2 separate regions of the Homo sapiens genome follow, and region 1 is linked to region 2. Evidence: promoter capture Hi-C in 16 types of primary human blood cells and fetal thymus (Javierre and others, 2016). All regions are on one chromosome and are shown on one strand. Each heading gives the region's core, a stretch centred on a gene start or on the middle of the fragment in contact. The rest is flanking DNA. Distances are from core to core; before and after follow the strand shown. Region 1 overlaps CCDC137 (coiled-coil domain containing 137). Region 2 holds the start of P4HB (prolyl 4-hydroxylase subunit beta).

Region 1 (3,367 bases), core at 190-2,689, 190 kb before region 2:
TTGTGATCTGCCCATCTTGGCCTCCCAAAGTGCTGGGATTACAGGCATGAGCCACCGCGCCCGGCAGGTCTGCCCACGTTTCTCTGTGTAGCTCCACTGGGCTTCTTTCGGCAGCTGTGCAATGGAGTCTGTGGGTGATCAGAGGAGAATTCATTCAACCAGCCACCTAGGGGTGGACATTAGGTTGTTTCTGCTTTCCTTTTTCAGCTGTGCTGCAGTGGACATCTGTGACAGGTGCCATTGGGCTGGGGGGTCACGTCCCCGGGGATGCCGGGCCGGGCATTCTACATCCTCTTCAGCTGCTGTCGTTGGGGTGCTTCCAGCCAGCCTGGTCTTCCCTTCCTGTGGCTTTGGGAGGGGAAATGAGCATGGGTCACCTGCCTGCCACTGTCTGCCTCCTGCCTCCTCTGAGGCCTCCCTTTGTCCTCAGCCCAGGTGACCTTCAGAAAGACATTGGAGAAGGAAGCAAAGGGAGAGGAGCCCGACATCGCAGTCCCCAAGTTCAAACAGAGGAAGGGGGAGTCTGACGGGGCCTATATCCACCGCATGCAGCAAGAGGCCCAGCATGTGCTGTTCCTCAGCAAGAACCAGGCCATCCGGCAGCCAGAGGTGCAGGCAGCTCCCAAGGAGAAGTCTGAGCAGAAAAAAGCAAAAAAAGCGTGAGTGGAGGCGGGAGGGGGAGGGGTCTGCCCTGGGAGCCGGAGGGAAGACATTGGGTTCCCATGACGGCCCTCTGCAGGTACCCTGTTTCATAGCCATGGGGCAGCCTGGATTCAGGGAGACCAAGCCAGAGCCCTGGGAGTTGGCGAGTCGGAGCATCCAGCTGGGAGCCAGTGAGGGTGTGGCCTCCAGGAGGCTGCGGAACCTGGGAACTCTGCGGAGACCTCGCTTGGTCCTTGCTTTCACAGGAAAAGCACCAGAAAGCCCTAGCCCTGTGGGAATCAGCCCTGAGGGGGTCGGTCTGAGGGTGACGTGCCCAGGGGTTCTGTTTCCATTAGAACAGAATGTCTCTCGTCCAAGAGACTACACCTTCCTAATTCTCTAAAAGCTTTGGCCGAGTACAGTGGCTCACGCCTGTAATCCCAGCACTTTGGGAGGCTGAGGCAGGTGGATCACGAGGTCAGGAGATCGAGACCATCCTAGCCAACACGGTGAAACCTTGTCTCTAATAAAATACAAAAAAAAAAATTAGCCGGGCGTGGTGGTGCATGCCTGTAATTCCAGATACTTGGGAGCCTGAGGCAGTGGAATCGCTTGAATCCGGGAGGCAGAGGTTGCAGTGAGCTGAGATCGTGCCGCTGCACTCCAGCCTGGTGACAGAGCGAGACTCCATCTCAAAAAAAAGAAAAAAAAAAAAAAGCTTTGAAGGTTTGAGAGGTTGCTTTCAGCTCTGTAGATTCCCTGTTTCTGGATTGTTGTATTACTTATAGTTACCTTAGCCAGTGAAAGTTCATCACAGAGAACGTGGCCCAGATACAGCCTGGCGCCACGGTGATCTCCAGAGCTGTCGCTGAAGGTGAAGCTTCCAGATTCACATTGAGGGAGACGTGATATACAATGCTTGTTAGGCCCTTTAGACACAGCAGCACCGGATGGGCTGGATGAGTCTCTGTTGGGTGGTCTTTGGCAGCCTTCCCAGCCTTCGTGCACAAGGTGCCAGTAGCCCTTGCCCACGTGTCTGCACACATTGTCAGATGTTCCCTGGCAGGTAGCTGTCCCCAGCTGAGAACCACTGGGGGACCTGTGAGGGGCCTGTTGGGGTCAGAGCCTTCTTTGGTGGGCAGCTGTGGGTTTTGGGGTGGTAAGGGGAGCGGGGACTTGGAGGCAGCCACCTGTTCTTGGGTCCCTGCTCTGCCACAGGGGATCCCTTGTGGGTGGGGCGGCCTCTGCCTCCTCCCTGGGTGGAAAGAGAATTTAGGAATCTGAGTGACATGTGCTTTCTTCCCCAGGTTCCAGAAGCGGCGACTAGATAAAGTCCGACGGAAAAAGGAGGAAAAGGCGGCAGACAGGCTGGAGCAGGAGTTGCTCCGAGGTAGCTCTTCCCAAAGCGATGGTGTCAGCAGTGGTCCGGGTGGGGCCTGGGCGCAGGCCTTCTGTTCCCCACCAGCCCTGGCTGCACTGGGCACCTGTGGTTTCCCCTGGGGTCCACAGCCATTAGACCACTGGATGAGTTGGTGTTCTGTCCCAGCCCTATGGGAGGGAGGTGGGCGGGTGGTGGCTCTGGGTGTCAGGGGTGCAGTGGCTGTGGGCAGCAGTCCTCAGTTGTATTCTGCTCCTCCAGACACGGTGAAGTTTGGTGAGGTTGTCCTGCAGCCCCCAGAGCTGACTGCCAGGCCCCAGAGGAGCGTAAGCAAGGACCAGGTAAGTGGGGCACGGGGACAACTTGAGTTTGTCCCCCAGTGCTGCCAGGGAACAGAAGCCTTGGACAGGCTGGACACGGTGGGTCACACCTGTAATCCCAGCACATTGGGAGGCCAAGGCAGGCGGATTGCTTGAGCCCAGGAGTTGATACCAGCCTGGACAACATAGCGAGATCCTGTGTCAAGAAAAAAAAAAACCCTCAGCCAACGTGTGCGCTGTCTGGTGTGTGGCCTGAGAGTGCAGTGTTCTCGCTGGCGGGAGAGCTGTTGAAGCTGTGAGGCTTTCTGTTGCATCCCCTCCTTTCCCAGCCTGTGCCTCACCCTCCCCTCTCTCCCTCAGCCTGGCAGGAGATCGCAGATGCTGCGGATGCTTCTGAGCCCCGGTGGTGTGTCCCAGCCTCTGACCGCCTCCCTGGCCCGCCAGCGGATTGTGGAGGAGGAGAGAGAGCGGGCCGTGCAGGCCTACAGAGCGTTGAAGCAGCGGCAGCAGCAGCTGCACGGGGAGCGACCCCACCTCACTTCCCGGAAGAAGCCAGAGCCGCAGCTGTGATGGAGAGACACCCGGGGCCTGGCCACGCTCTGGGGCAACTGGCACCAGGAGCTGCTACACCTGGGTAGGAGAGAGGCAGGCCATGCCAGCAGTGTGGGGTGAGGCCTCCAGCTACTTGTTCACACGTTGGGCACTAGTGGGTCCACATCTTGCAGGGGGTGAGTGCCCGATGGACTAGGGCCAAGGCCTGGTTGACAGACGGCCCGTGGGGCCCGGTGTCACTCACAGCTCCATCTCTTTGTTTTGAACGTCCATTCTGAGTCTCAGCCCAGGTGGACCTTAGGAAGGGCTGGATCCCTGTCCCTGAACACCAAATACCGAGACAGCTGATGAGGCTGGCTCAGTGTGTGACGGAGGCCCCCGGGAGTCAGCAGAGCCGAGCGTACAGTGCACATCAGGCAGAGCAGGCCACGGGCAGGGACGACGCATCGGGACAGGGCTCTGCAGGGGACCGTGA
Region 2 (3,396 bases), core at 837-3,336:
GGAGAACCCTGCTAACACTGGAATGAGCTGCTTTCGGGCTACCCACCATGAGCATCTGACATGCCACAGAACCGGTTTTATAGACGAGTTTTCTTTTGCCACCGTCACTGATCTGGCTACACAGGGGCTCGGCCTCCACTACGGCAGCTTCAGAGGCGGCAGACGAGCAGCTGAGGGCCCGTGCTACAGACGGAGCAGGGCGGGCTTGGATTCGAGGTCTGCTACCGACAGGCTCGATGCTGTTACTCAGCTGCTCTAAGCCTCAGCCCTTTGTCTGGGAAAAGCCCGCCTCACAGAGAGGATGCGAGGAGAAATCACGCAAGCACGTGACGCGGCAGCTGGCACGCTACACACGACAGCTAGCAGGTGTCACCCCGAGAGCTACAGCCATGCTGCTGCTCCTAGGAACAGGGGGCAGCACAAACAGCCCATGTGGCCAGAAAGGCACCAGTCTCCCTCTCCTCGCTGGTCAGTCTCCAAACAGACCTCAGCCAGCCGCCCCCAGGATGGCACCAGACAAGACAGGTTCTCCATTCGAAGGTTCTTCCAGGATGAAAACTCCTCACAAGACCCTCAGGGCACAAGTGGACAGAGAACCCGGCCTGAGGAACGGGATCCCTCCAAGCCTCTGGAACCCGGCCTCCCCACCGCTCAGACAGCTGCCCCTGCCCTTCCAAGTCGGCAGGCCAGTCCCTCTCTAAAGACAGTTCAAGGGCAGTGCCACAGCCACACCTGTATATTCCTTGGGGGAAGCCGTGTCTCCATTCCTGAAGAACTTGATGGTGGGATAGCCGCGCACGCCGTACTGCTGGGCCAGGTCAGACTCCTCCGTGGCGTCCACCTTGGCCAACCTGATCTCGGAACCTTCTGCCTTCAGCTTCCCAGCGGCTTTGGCATACTCAGGGGCCAGAGCCTTGCAGTGGCCACACCAAGGGGCATCTGGAAGCGGAAATGAGATGCTAGAAAGCAGCCTTGATCCCTAAAGCAGCCTTGATCCCTCAGCAGTGCTTCCCTTTTTCCTCTGGCATTTCCCTTCATAAAAACCTTATCTACTCACCAAGATAACCCCTCCTAACGCACAAGGCTGAGCTGATAGCCTGGTGTTCTTGGGCAATATCAGGACAGAGGCCGTGAACGACAAACTACCACCAACCAACACCAGCCCCCACTCTGCTATGTCACCATCAGCACAGCCAGACAAACCTTTCAATGGTTGCTGACTTCTTATTCCCCACAGGCAACTAAGGCAAGGATCTCCCCTAGACTTTCCCTTTAAGACTACAGACAAAAGTGAAGAAGTGACCGTGGCGGCCTGTACCAGCACTAGCTGTGAGTATGAGATGCACATCCGTGCACACAGACCCTGAGTTGCTTAGGGTGAGAATAAGACGATCTGTCAATAGAGTTAGCAGCTGTGTCAGGCACAAGGTTCCCACCCCAGGGACAGAGCTCAAATCCTTATGGACGTGAGGAAGGCTTGGGATTCTCCTCTGAGACACCATCGGAAGGACTGCTGTGGCAAGCTGAAGGTGGGGTGGGCAGGAGCGGGGCGCCTTCCGGGTCGGCCCCCGGGGAGGACTCGGCAAGGCTGGACACTGGCTTGCTCTGTTTGCTCACACAGGTCGATCCTGTTCTTCTCGCACTAACAGGAAGATCCTGCCGTGCGCAGGGCGGGCATCGGGACGGCCCCCCGGCTCCCAGCCCGGCTCTCACCCCCAGGGAGCCCCTGACATGGCCCCCAAGGCGGGCAGCAAGGGAGCCCTTCAGTTCCGGGCGCGCCGGGGGTCCCGACCCCGGGGGCTGCCGGGCCGTGCCTGCGTCCCAAGAGCCTGGCTCAGCGGCCCCGAGCCCCGCCCGCCCGCCAGGCCCGGCGCTCACAGAACTCCACCAGCAGGTACTTGTGGGCCGCCAGCGCCTCCGCGAAGTTGCTTTTCCGCAGCACCAGGACGTGGTCCTCCTCCTCGGGGGCGTCGGCGCGCACCAGGGCGGCCACGGCCAGGCACAGCAGAGCGCGGCGCAGCATGTCGGACACGGATCAGGCGGGGCGCTTCGGTTGGCGCCGCCGGGACAGCGGGGGCGACGAGAGCGCGCGCCGGTCCCGGCCTCGCCTTTATAAATCCTGGGTCCGGGGCGCGCCTGCCCCCCCGCCCGCGCGCGCTGGCCGCGGCGCGCACGCGCCGCTGGGGCCCGCCTTCGATTGGCCGGCGGACTTCGAGGCTCGTCTTTGCCGCTCTCGGATTGGACACTCACACCAGGCCTGGCCCCGGATTCGGAAACGCTCCTGAGTGCTCCCTGGCCTTCGTTCGGGATTGGCCGAGGACCTCGCGCTCGCTGTCTTTCTTAGCCTCTCATTGGCTCCCGACAAGAACTTTTTCTGCCTTGGCTTCTAATTGGTGGCTTTCGCCTGCACCTTCCACGGGTCTGGAATGGCTGCCCCTTTCGGTAGCACGGACTCTGCGCCTCCTGATTGGCCAAGGGATGCGCGCACTCTGCGCGTTCCTTCGTCGAACGTGGCAGTGGGGAGGAGTTCCCAGTTTAGGGGCGGAGCTGCGGCTGCGCTTCCGAAACCCCTCGTGTTGCATTCTGACTGGACCGCGTACCCAACTGGCACGCCCCCCGGCCCCCGGACCGGAAGTTGGGGTGACGCAATTTCCGGCGCGCGTGTCAAGCGTGCGGCGGCGGCCGTGGAAGGTGGGGTTGGCCGCCTAGGGTCGGCGGTGGGCTCGGTGTGGGATAGCCGGCCCGGTCCGACGCGCTCCGCGAGGTCACGCGAGACACTCACCGAGGCATGGCGGCAGGGCCTGGGCATGGGAATCGTGCGCACAGTGCGAGGAAGCCTCGGAGGGGATACGAGCACAGGGCGGGTGGTTAGGAGAATGGGGCTGGAGAGACGGGCGGGAGGGGCGGGACCTGGGCCCCGGGGACCTGCCGGCTCCCAGGCCCCAGGAAGACGCTGCTCATGCGTGGAGCGGCCGCAGGAAAGGTACTCCCCGCTAAGGCCTTCAGGGAGCGGCCCTTTGCCCTGTGCGATCTCTTCCTTCCTTTCCCACGGGTTGCCAAATCCTGTGACGCTGCCCCTTCTCTGGTGCTTCTCAGATGCTCTGGTCGGCTCAGGAGACCTCGCAGCTGTTACACAGCTGTGGAAATACCCTGGGCGCTGCTTCACTCCGAAGGCAGCAGCTGGGTTTGCCTCCCGACTCGACCCGCCACCGAGGCTCCTGAGCACTTGAAATATGGCCAGTCCACCTGAGACGGGCTGTGAGTGCGCAATGCACATCAAACTTCTAAGACTGAGTGTGCGGGGCCGAGTGCGGTGGCTCACGCCTGTAATCCCAGCACTTTGGAAGGCCGAGGCGGGCGGATCACGAGGTCAGGAGTTCGAGACCAGCCTGATCA

Evidence for each region. The method cuts DNA at HindIII sites, captures the fragments that hold promoters and counts their contacts. A CHiCAGO score of 5 or more calls a contact.
Region 1: a contact is called between a fragment that was not itself captured here and the fragment with the promoter of P4HB in region 2, in 3 of 17 cell types (erythroblasts, naive CD4 T cells and activated CD4 T cells). The highest score is 5.6, in erythroblasts.

The regions. Positions count from the first base shown.
Region 1 is chr17:81,669,795-81,673,161 of GRCh38, forward strand. It overlaps CCDC137 (coiled-coil domain containing 137), which reads left to right. Exons shown (of 6, transcript NM_199287.3): 3 at 431-659; 4 at 1,950-2,032; 5 at 2,282-2,361; 6 at 2,701-3,367. The coding sequence ends at 2,910. Among named protein-coding and RNA genes, the nearest start is that of CCDC137, 4.7 kb to the left of the region's middle. The HindIII fragment of the contact is 162 bases long and covers 1,359-1,520 here.
Region 2 is chr17:81,858,449-81,861,844 of GRCh38, forward strand. P4HB (prolyl 4-hydroxylase subunit beta) reads right to left here and starts at 2,087. Exons shown (of 11, transcript NM_000918.4): 1 at 1,879-2,087; 2 at 733-939. The coding sequence starts at 2,023. LOC124904086 (a long non-coding RNA gene) reads left to right here and starts at 2,662. Exons shown (of 2, transcript XR_007065950.1): 1 at 2,662-2,691. RefSeq lists silencers at 1,678-1,777, 1,988-2,207. The HindIII fragment of the contact is 26,352 bases long and covers 1-3,396 here.